Linked DNA regions of Homo sapiens: all the other regions are linked to region 4. Evidence: promoter capture Hi-C in 16 types of primary human blood cells and fetal thymus (Javierre and others, 2016). All regions are on one chromosome and are shown on one strand. The core of a region is centred on a gene start or on the middle of the fragment in contact, and the rest is flanking DNA. Distances in the headings are between cores, read along the strand shown.

The links. The method cuts DNA at HindIII sites, captures the fragments that hold promoters and counts their contacts. A CHiCAGO score of 5 or more calls a contact.
Region 1: a contact is called between a fragment that was not itself captured here and the fragment with the promoter of HRG in region 4, in 1 of 17 cell types (activated CD4 T cells). The highest score is 6.9, in activated CD4 T cells.
Region 2: a contact is called between a fragment that was not itself captured here and the fragment with the promoter of HRG in region 4, in 6 of 17 cell types (total CD4 T cells, activated CD4 T cells, naive CD8 T cells and 3 more). The highest score is 6.5, in total CD4 T cells.
Region 3: a contact is called between a fragment that was not itself captured here and the fragment with the promoter of HRG in region 4, in 1 of 17 cell types (activated CD4 T cells). The highest score is 5.0, in activated CD4 T cells.

The regions. Positions count from the first base shown.
Region 1 is chr3:185,992,618-185,995,317 of GRCh38, forward strand. No RefSeq gene overlaps it. Among named protein-coding and RNA genes, the nearest start is that of TRA2B, 56 kb to the left of the region's middle. The HindIII fragment of the contact is 1,782 bases long and covers 502-2,283 here.
Region 2 is chr3:187,191,538-187,194,237 of GRCh38, forward strand. No RefSeq gene overlaps it. Among named protein-coding and RNA genes, the nearest start is that of RTP1, 4.6 kb to the right of the region's middle. The HindIII fragment of the contact is 1,787 bases long and covers 431-2,217 here.
Region 3 is chr3:186,079,832-186,082,531 of GRCh38, forward strand. It overlaps ETV5 (ETS variant transcription factor 5), which reads right to left. Exons shown (of 13, transcript NM_004454.3): 6 at 1,215-1,344; 7 at 1-273. It overlaps ETV5-AS1 (ETV5 antisense RNA 1), which reads left to right. Exons shown (of 2, transcript NR_046594.1): 2 at 729-1,116. Among named protein-coding and RNA genes, the nearest start is that of ETV5-AS1, 2.0 kb to the left of the region's middle. The HindIII fragment of the contact is 936 bases long and covers 818-1,753 here.
Region 4 is chr3:186,664,719-186,667,418 of GRCh38, forward strand. It overlaps HRG (histidine rich glycoprotein), which reads left to right and starts at 1,296. Exons shown (of 7, transcript NM_000412.5): 1 at 1,296-1,496. The coding sequence starts at 1,314. HRG-AS1 (HRG and FETUB antisense RNA 1) reads right to left here and starts at 916. Exons shown (of 3, transcript NR_187317.1): 1 at 861-916. The HindIII fragment of the contact is 4,199 bases long and covers 1-2,700 here.

The DNA of each region.
Region 1 (2,700 bases), core at 143-2,642, 670 kb before region 4:
TTGAAGAATGTGTGTTGCCTGTCTTCCCCAAAGCTTGGTTTTTCTCTAGCTGCTGGGGATGAATCAGTTTTGGTTCTCATTAGAAGGAGCCAGTCCAGAATCATGCCTTCTCTCTTCTTCTATTCTGTTAATAAATGAATGACACCTGTATTCTTGGAGCTTCTGATTTAATTCAGCATCAACACTGAAATATTTGTTTACCAAAGAAAAATACTTTCCATGCTCCTCTGACTGTGTCATCCACATGAGCCACCACCAGCAGCCCAAAGCCAGTTCCGAAGCAGCAGAACATTTTTCGAGCAAAACAGCACTCTGTGACCCTCGGAGTGCTTGTTCAGCTGAAATTACTTGTGTCTGGCACAGACCTTCTCTTTTGATTTTGGCAGGATTTCAGGGAGTGAAAAAGCTAGGTTAGTGTTAGGGCTGGGATTAGAATTTGGTACTCAACAGATCATACTGTTAACACTTCTCCTCTTTGCTAACTTTATGAAGTTCAAGAAAAGCTTTCTGGGGAATGGCACCAATTTATTTGCCAAAAGCTGAGATGGGCCAAGGAAGATGTAGTCAGCATTTGGAATCTCCTTGCCTTAGGGTTTAACAGCCAAGGAGGGAAGAAGGATGTGCTGGGGAGCGGGGGAATAGGGGCCATGTGGGTAGTGCTGGAAGGATTCGGGATGCCGAACAGGCTTGGCTCCTTGCGGTTCCACCCCCACAACATCTCTCAAGCCATGCGCCGTCCTCTCCTCTAGCACAGCACTCTGTCCTAATCCTTATCATTCTCACCAACTATAGCAATACTCTCTGATACGCCTTCTTGCCCCTCTTGTCTGTCCTGAGCACTGCTGCCAGTTTTTATTCTTATGCTTAGAAGCATTCAAGCCTCCCCAGTGCTTGTCAAATAAGAGCCTCATCTTTAACACAATGCTCAAGGCTCCCCACAAGCAGGTCCCAAGCTCCACTTCTGCCCCCGTTTCTTCCTTCACCTTCCACGAAGACTCTGGCACCTACGAGCTAGACATGTGCCATCCCCCAGACGTGCCATGTCCATGCCAGCCTGTGAGCCTTTGCACGGACTGGTCCCTCAGCCTAGATTGTCCTCCCCTAGTTCCCATCTTTGCCTAGTAGATTCCTCCTCATCCTCGAGGACCCAGGTCAAATATCGCTTCTTCTGTGAGGCTTCTCTTAACTCTTCAAAGCAAAGCTGATGCCTCAAGCTCATCCATGGGACTTGTGTACTGCACTCTTTTGTGTCTGCCACGAGGGGACCTTGGGGACAGAACAATGCCTTATTTATAATTATGTGTCTTCTACACCACATCGAGTGCCTTGTTCAGTGTCTGTTACTTTATTTGAATTTTTGAAAGCAGATGGGACAATCTCCCTTGATACCAGGGAGAAACCACAGCAGTAAACTCAGTCTTTGGCTGTGTTAGGCTGACTGGTTCTGCTTTCTTTATTTTTATTTTTTATTTTTTTTTGAGACAGGGTCTCTCTCTGTTGCCCAGGCTGGAGTACATTGGTGCAATCTCAGCTTACTGCAACCTCCACCTCCCAGGCTCAAGCGATCCTCCCACCTCAGCCTCTGGAGTAGCTGGGACCGCAGGCGCACACCACCACACTTGGCTGGCTAATTTTATTTACTTTTAGTAAAGAAGGGGTTTCACCATGTTGCCCAGGCTCGCTTTCTTTTCTTTTCTTTTTCTTTTCTTTTTTTTTTTGAGAGAAAGTATGGCTCTGTCGCCTAGGCTGGAGTGCAGTGGCGCAATCTCGGCTCACTGTAACCTCCGCCTCCCTGGTTCAAGCAATTCTTCTGCCTCAGCCTCCTGAGTAGCTGGGATTACAGGCGCGCACCACCATACCTGGCTAATTTTTGTATTTTTAGTAGAGACGGGGTTTCACCATATTGGTCAGGCTGGTCTCGAACTCCTGACCTCAGGTGATCCACCCGCCTCGGCCTCCCAAAATGCTGGGATTACAAGCGTGAGCCACCATGCTCGGCCTCAGGCTTGCTTTCTTTAATCTCCAGAATAATGCAGTGCACTGGGTAATGGGTACTGGGTAAACATCTCCTTGTTGGCCACAGGTAACTGCTCCCTGCAAATGTCATCTCTGAGGAGATGTCCCAAGTGGCAAGGATTTTTGGCTCAATTAAGCTCCCAAGAGTTATCCCCATTATGTTAAGTTCTGGAGAGATATGCATAATTGTGACTCTGTCCCTGCCATGGAGGTCCTTACGGCTTAGTGAGGAAGATACACACACACACAGACACACACAAGGCATGAAGCTTGATGGGGTTCTCAGCTAAGCCTGGGAGCAACAGGGTAGGTTTCTTGGAGGAGGTGAAAACTGAACTGAATATTAAAGTTGTACAGGAGTTACGATGGACAAAGGCAGTGAGTATAACCAATATAGCCTCAAGCTACCATTAGCATTCAGAACTGAAAGATTATGGTGGTATAGGGAAGGGGATCAGTTGAAGAAAGATAGAGATATTGATAGAGAAGATGATATATGAGCTGGGCTTTGAAAGATGAGAGGGTTTTGGATAAATAGAGATAGGAATAGGATACAGGTTGAAAGACAATCTGGGCAAAGGAACAGTGTAAACAAAGGCATAGAGGAGGGATGTAGCTTGCTTTAAATGATCAGCTCCAAAAAGGTTATCACTGGAATATTATTTGAGAGATGAATCATGATGA
Region 2 (2,700 bases), core at 74-2,573, 530 kb after region 4:
TTTCCTTTGCTTTGACCCAAAGGGAGCAGCCCTACTGTTCCTATCTGGCTATGTTTTGGGATTGGACTTGCTGGATTAGTTTACTCTTTGGCTACTTTGCCTTTTTGATCCTTAGTTTGCTTTTTTTTTTTTTTTTTTTTGCAAAATAATGTCAACCTCTACCTACATCATAGAATTGGACATCGTGTTCTCAAGGCACTAAGCTCTTTGAAGGATGAAGAAAAATAATCAGGTACTGTGGTAGAAAGTCTCCAAAGATGGCTGCCACCAATTCCTTCCCTTCCTATAGGCACAGGCAATTTCCCCATCAAGAGTTGAAGTTTATTTCCCATTCCCCTATATCGGGCTGGCCCTGTGATTGCTTTCATCAACAGAATATGACAGGAGTGATGTTATGGGACTTCTGACTCTAGCCTTAAGGAGGACTGGAAGCTTCCATTTATTCTTCCTAGAATGAATCTTCTTGGAAACAAACTACCATGTAGTGAAGAAGCCTGAGCAGCTAAAAGGAAAGACCCAAGTGGAGAAATACCATAATGGTGAATAAGGCATTATGAAAGTTCACAAATGGCAGAGGCATTGTGGAGAGGAAGGGAAGTCCATATTCACGGTAATTGTTTCTTCCAGTGAAAACAAAGGTCTATCCCTTCCTTGATGGAAATGGTCCAGTGTAATCAACTTGCCACCAGGTCGTTGGTTGTTTCCCATGGAATCATGGCCCAATCAATTGTTCAGTGTTGGTCTCTCTCTGTTTTTGGAATTTGGGCATTGTATTAGTCCATTCTTGCACTGCTAAAAAGAAATACCTGAGACTGGGTAATTTATTAATATAAAGAAAAGAGGTTTAATTGGCTCAGGGTTCCATAGGCTGTACAGGTAGCATAGCTGAGGAGGCCTTAGGAAACTTACAATCATGACGGAAGGTGAAGGAAAGCAGGCTTGTCTTACGTGGCTGAAGCAGGAGGAAGAGAGAGCGAAGGGGGAGGTGCTACACTCATTTAAACAACCAGATCTCATGAGAACTCACTCACTATCACCAGAAGAGCAAGGGGGAAATCCACCACTATAATCCAATCACCTCCCACCAGGACCCTCTTCCAACATTGGGGATTACAATTCAACATGAGATTTGGGTGGGGACACAAATCCAAACCATATCAGGCACTTAGCAGTGGATTTAGAGAATTCCTTATATACCATTGTGATATTCCATATAGCATTGCTTCTGACTGGCAACTCATTTCAAAGTAAAGGAAATCTGGCAATGAGCTCACACTCATGAAATTCATTAGTCTTAACTATATCACCCATAATCCTGAAGTAGTTGGCCTGATTGAACAATGTGGTGGTCTTTGGAAGACTCAGTTATAGAATCAGCTGGGGGACAGGACCTTGCAGGGCTAGGATAATGTTCTCCAGGATGTGGTACATGCTCAGAATTAGCAACCATGATGATATAGTGCTTAGTTCCAAGAATTAAAGGGTAGAATGGACTGGCTTTCTCAAAATTAGCCCTAATGGTAAACTAGTTTTTTTTCCCTTTTCTTTCTGTACCCATAACTTTGATCTCTGCTATTTTAGAAATCTTAGTACCCAAGGAAAAAAAATGTTGCCATTAGAGAAGAAAATTAAAAATTCCTTTAAAGTTGAGACTACTACATGGGCTCTTAATATCATTAAATCAACAGATGGAGGGGCTTACTGTTCTGGTCCAGCAATGTTGGGGCATTCTGGAAGGAAAGAGTCTTTGTTTTGGGACTGTGAGGCACATTTAGATCTTTGGTACAGGGTACCAGTAGAAACTTCCAGTCATGGGTCCAGCCCTAAAACACACCCCTCCTTCTTCTCAAATGCCATTTAGGGATAGAAAATTGTGCATAGTTGAGAATTTTTCATGAGTGCATCATTTCAAGAAAAAAAATTAGAGGCTTGTTTTTTCTTTTCATTGCTCTATTTTCTAGTTGGGAACTTAATTTAAAGCATTTTATCCACTTAAAACATGATCACAAACTTTAAGAAATTGACCAGGGTGAGGCCAACAGCTTTAGAGATGTCTGAATTGGCCTTCTCTAAATTGTAGATTCCATGGTGTTAGAGGTCATTTGATAGAGAGCAAGTTGCAATACCACAGTATTTTTTTCTGTCTTGATAGAAATTTTTATTAGAGAAAATACTCTGCTATCCAGAAGGATGCATTATATTGGCCTCTGCACAGCAAGCTTGGGTTCTAAATAAAACTTAATTTGTGCCAATGGGGATTGCATCAGCTGGTTACACACACACACACACTCACACACACACACACACACACCCCTCTGGTGATTCTTACTTTCTGTCTTCTGTCATCATAGTGTTTATTGTAGCAACACCTGCAAAATACTTCTAGAGGATTTGTTCTGGGTAGCACTGTTTGTTATAAGCTCCTCTCAGCTTCACGTATTTTCTGGGAAGGTCCACAGCCCCCATTCTCATTTTGGCCAGTAACTCCCACCTGAGGCAGTTCCCATCATATCTGTGAGGTTTGTTAAACGAGTTTACTTATTTAGGTGTTGGTTGCCTTAATTCAGAGGTAAGAATACTGACTTGAAGGACTGAAAGTTTAATGAAGGGTCCTGAAGAACTTAAGAGTTTTTCCCAATGCCGGCCAGGTGAGATGGCGCATGCCTGTGATCTTAGCACTTTGGGAGGTGGAGGCAGGAG
Region 3 (2,700 bases), core at 36-2,535, 580 kb before region 4:
TACTGGTTTTCAGGCATCATCTTTGGCATCTGCAGGGGCTGATGTGGTGGTCGGGGGACCGCAAATGTTTGCTGCTGTGGTCCAGGCTCTGGAAGCGAATGGGGGGCGGGGGCGGGGCCCACACCTTGAACTGGGCCAGCTGCAGGGGCATGCCCTGAGGTGGGCAGAGTTGCCTGAGGTGGGGGAAATAGGGGATTCTGATGGGTGGGTGAGAGGGGGGTTGTAGGAGGGGTTAATGGCTTGAACCCAGAGGGAGGCTTCCTATCATAGGCACTGTAAACAGAAAAAGAGAAGGAACCATTAAGCTGAAATGAAGCCATTAGCATGGTTACCAGGTCCAGCAGAAAGCTAGTTTGCAGCCCATTGTTGCCAGGAAATAACAGCATTAACATAGTTAAATCGCTCGTAGCCCCGAGGGGATATTTGTACCTCTGAAAAGTGACAAACACACTGCGTCACAGGGACTTGTTTAACACTTCTAGTGATTTTTCTCAAGGATAATTTTAGCCTCTGCTTCCGGTTTCCTTTTTCCCTCCTTCTAAAAGAATTCTCCGTGTATGCCTGTGTAGGGTGGGTGGGTGAGGGGAGAATGTATGTTTGCCAGGTGTTCTCTGGTCCCCTCTCCCAACTATTTCCAGGGTTCCCAGGAATTAGTCAGAATATGTGTTGAAGGTCTGTTTGTGCTGTGACATCATTTGAATTAACAACTCTTCTCCTCCCCCTTTCAGGCAAATCTATGTTTATCTTCTAGAGCAAAGAATGATTTAAAATTAAAGCTTCATTCCTGGGGCCTGGATATTCTTAAGTAAAGGGCACAAGCTTCAAGACTTTTTCATATATTCTGATTTGGAGATTACTTCTCTGGTGCTTAAAGTTCACATTAACATATGATAGACATGAAGAAGTATATATTACCTGCCTCAAAGCCACAGATCAAGTATCCCAGGATTGAGACTCTTTCCCTAGAAGGACTGGGTACCCTATGAACTTAGTGCTCTGTAGAGCCACAAGGTTTTTAATGGTTTTCTTTTGTGTGCAGTACAATGATCCCAAGGGGACTGGACTACACCCGGAGGATGACACTGCCATGAAAGAAGGATATGTTTTACCACAGGGTCTGCTGGGTAAGTAACACTGGGAAGGAACATTCAGCTTGATGGCTACTTCCAGAGCCTTTCTGGGCAGCCTTTCTTCGACTCCTCTTGCCCACTCACCAATAGTTGTAGAGGCACTTTTCTCCATAGTTAGCACCAAGAGCCTGCTCATGGCTACAAGACGACAGCTCAGAGGAGGGGCTGTGCAGCTCCCGTTTGATCTTGGTTGGAGGTGGGGCATGAAGCACCACTGAAATCAGAAGAGGGATGAGAGGGGAATAGAGAGAGAACAGCTGATTAACAGGGAGCACAATGCTTCCTTCTGCAAACCTTCTAACTAGCTGATTGTTCTTGGAACTCATGTCAAGTCACATGTCAGAAAAAGCAAAACGCTTAAACACACAACCTCCCATCCAAAGCCAATTAAATTCTTCAAAGTCAGAAAAAGTATCATCATCTGATACTTTTAATTAGCCAAGTCTTTTTTCCCAAATTTCTTTGGTCATGGGTCTTGCTTTCCAGAAGCTGCAAAATCCTTAAAAACCTTGCAGGTAATGGGTCTCCACCAAAAATGCAAGTGGCTGCAGACATGAAGAATTTTGTTTCCAAAAAGGACAAAACGACCAAAAATGTGTTGGTAGACATTACCAACACATTTAAGCTTATCAAAGGCTTAAAATTGCTGTGGCAAATATATTTCTTATTCAGATGCATATTTACAAATTAAATATAGAATTTTTAAAAAGTCCTTTCTCAAGTAACTTTAAATATCAGCTCTCAGCAAGAAATACTCAACTTTAGAGGCATTCCAAAAATTTTAAAAGCAAAGGAATAAAACAACAGACCAATCCACCACCTAGGAAAGGCTAATGAATACAGAAAGCAGAAAGCCTGGCTACCTTTGTGCTTACAACATCTGCTCCAGGCCTGTCTCAGTGACCGACCAGCAAGGGTAGGTTTGCGTAACCAGTCCTTTCATAGATGGTGCAGTGAATTTTGCTGAATTCATGGAATAAATACATGGAGCTACTGCTTTTGGCTTGGAAGCCAACTACATATACCACATAGGATTCTGAGAGGGCAGAGTAACAAGAATTTTTCAAATCAAGGTGATTTACATGTAGTGGCCAAAATAAACCCAAAGAACAAAAAACCGAGTTTGCCTTTTCTGTCTTCTCTAGGAGCTAAATTGTTGCAGAGACAGCATTTTATCCAAAGTGGAAAGATGCATTTTGCGCTATAAGGGCTGCCTTCTAGTTGAGTTAGAATGGTTACTCCTTGTCTAGCTACCTTGGAAGGTGGGGAAGGAGAGCAAGTTAAGCTTCTATGCTGGCCACTGGCCACTGTATCAAAGGTCTCATTAAATAGCTAACTACAGTCAGTGGTCTGGTGACCCAGTAACATTTTCATTTTGACTCAATGTTTACTCCTAAAACATCTTTAGGAGTTACTTCTTAGTAATTATACGAGGTAGAACTAGCTAAACAAATCATCACTTTTCTCTTTTTTTTTTTTTTTTTGAGACGGAGTCTTACTCTGTCGCCCAGGCTGGCGTGCAATGGCGTGATCACTGCAACCTCTGCCTCCTGGGTTCAAACGATTCTCC
Region 4 (2,700 bases), core at 46-2,545:
GGCAGTGAGGACGGAACCTAGGCTGATTCCCTCTGGTCCCTTCTGATGCTGCTGGCTCTGCTGGTCTGAGGGTTGCATATAGGTATACGGGTTTCTTCTGAAGTGTGAAGGTAGGGGGTCAGCTGTATCATAGCCCAGTCCCCCCCTGCTGATCCCTTCTAACAGTGGGATGGGCATCCAACTATTTGACTCTTACTCTCACCACCATCCTCTTCCACGTGAATCAATTCTTTTTGCAGGGAATTGGGGTGGCATGAGGTGTCCCCAACTTCTTTGCAGGCACACTAATAATAAATAGCATCACTTATTCAGCATCTACTCTATGCCAAGAATTATACTGGTTGCTTTCTTTTTTTCTTTCTTTCTTTTTTAGATGGAATCTCACACTGTCGCCCGAGCTGGAGTGCAGTGGCGCGATCTCAGCTCACTGCAATCTCCGCCTCCCGGGTTCAAGTGATTCTCCTGCCTCAGCCTCCCAAGTAGCGGCGATTACAGGCATGTGCCACCATGCCCAGCTAATTTTTTGTATTTTTAGTAGAGACAGGGTTTCACCATGTTGGCCAGGCTGGTCTCAATCTCCTGACCTTGTGATCAGCCTGCCTTGGCCTCCCAAAGTGCTGGGATTACAGGCATGAGCCACCGCACCCAGCCTGATTTCTTATTTAATTATCACACAAGCCTGCCAAGAGGTATCAATCCATATTTCGTAAATGAGGGAACTATCAGAGAAGTTTTGTTGCTTACCCAGCATTACACAGTAAGAAAGTAATAGAGCCAGGTGAGAAATTCAGATTTGACTTCAAAACGACAGCCTCTTCATTGTTCTATTTTACCTGAAGTCATTCCTTTTATAATGGTACCTGTTTAACATGTTCCCCCGCTTAGATAATGCAGCTGCCTTCTACTGAGGAGTTTTAGTGCCATGATCCATCAGTCCACTGACTGATGATGGAGATTTCCAGCTGAGACAGGCAGGCAGATGGAGGAAAATTACCCCTAGCCCCACCCCCTACACCAACATAGGCACTGCTTATATTCAAAGACGTACTTTAGATCTGCTATCTACTAGAAAAATCCAGATTTGTGCAGATCACAGTTCCACCCACTCATCAGCATTTCTCAGCTTTCTGCCCCCAGGACCCACTAATCATTTACAGCTTGTTGATGGTTATTTGAACCCAGGGTCAAGGTGAACACCCTCAGTTACACAACAAAAATGTATCAAGGTTTTGTTTAATCAATTGCGTGTGTTTCAGAAAGTCTGTATAAAATTCTCTGCAGTGGCAGATCATAGCAAGGGATGGTTTAACAAAATGAAGGCACTCATTGCAGCACTGCTTTTGATCACATTGCAGTATTCGTGTGCCGTGAGTCCCACTGACTGCAGTGCTGTTGAGCCGGAGGCTGAGAAAGCTCTAGACCTGATCAATAAAAGGCGACGGGATGGCTACCTTTTCCAATTGCTGCGGATTGCTGATGCCCACTTGGACAGAGTGGTGAGGAATTGCCAATGGCAGAGCTGAGTTGGGAGATTACTCACGGGGGCAAATGTGACTCTACCCCCTAGGCTTACTGCTTTGCACAATGAATGGCTTTGGTCAGAGTTTTTTGTTTGGCTTCTGCGGCTGCTCTAAATTGTTCTTTTTTCCTTCAAACTAATATTTGTTATTAGTGTACCCGCAACTATGATTCGATTTGTGGGTACATATAAGCATTTATGCTGAGCCCAGTTACATGCTAAGGACTGCCAGAGAAACATTAGAATAAGCTATGGGCCTTGGCCTCCAGGAAATAATAATACACTGGCACATACAGGCAAACAGTGTAAGTTACTAGGATAAACTAGAGAGAAGGAAAAGTTTTCTCAACCCTCCTAAGGCTCCTAACTGAGCCTGAAATAAAACTGGTAGACAAGGCCAGGCGCGGTGGCTCACGCCTGTAATCCCAGCACTTTGGGAGGCCAAGGCGGACGGATCATGAGGTCAGGAGTTCAAGACCAGCCTGGCCAACATGGTGAAACCCTGTCTCTACTAAAAATACAAAAACTAGCTGGGCATGGTGGTGCACGCCTGTAATCCCAGCTACTCAGGGGGTTGAGGCAGAAGAATCGCTTGAACTCGGGAGGCAGAGGTTGCAGTGAGTCGAGATCATGCCACTGCACTCCAGCCTGGGCAACAAAGCTAGACTCCATCTCAAAAAAAAAAAAGAAGAAGAAGAAAACATACAAATTTATTTAATCCAAGGTTTACCTGACACTGGAGTCTTCATAAATGAAGACTCAGATATCCAAAGAAACTGGCCACTTGCATACTTAGAATTCACAAAGGCTGTGCAGAATGCAGAAGTGTGATGGGACAAAAGGCTGTAATCTAAGAGTCATAGACTGAAAGAAGGACCCAGCAAGGCCTCTCTGTTTGAGTTCTTCATGGCCTCTCTGTGTGGCATTTCTTGCTCCCAAGTATGGGACAGGATCCCTTTGGAATGCGGATCTGAGGACCTACTATCAAACAGAGTAGGTCAGAGAATGTCTTTATGGCCAGCTCCTACAAAGAAAGACACAGGGGGAAGGTTAGATTCATATTTTAGGATTTATGGATGCTTTCGGGGAGAGGGATTCTACCATCTGTGACTGTCCTGGAGAAGAGAAATTTTAGTTTCTATGGCTTGCCTTGGGGGAGAAAGCAGAGTAGGAGAACAAAG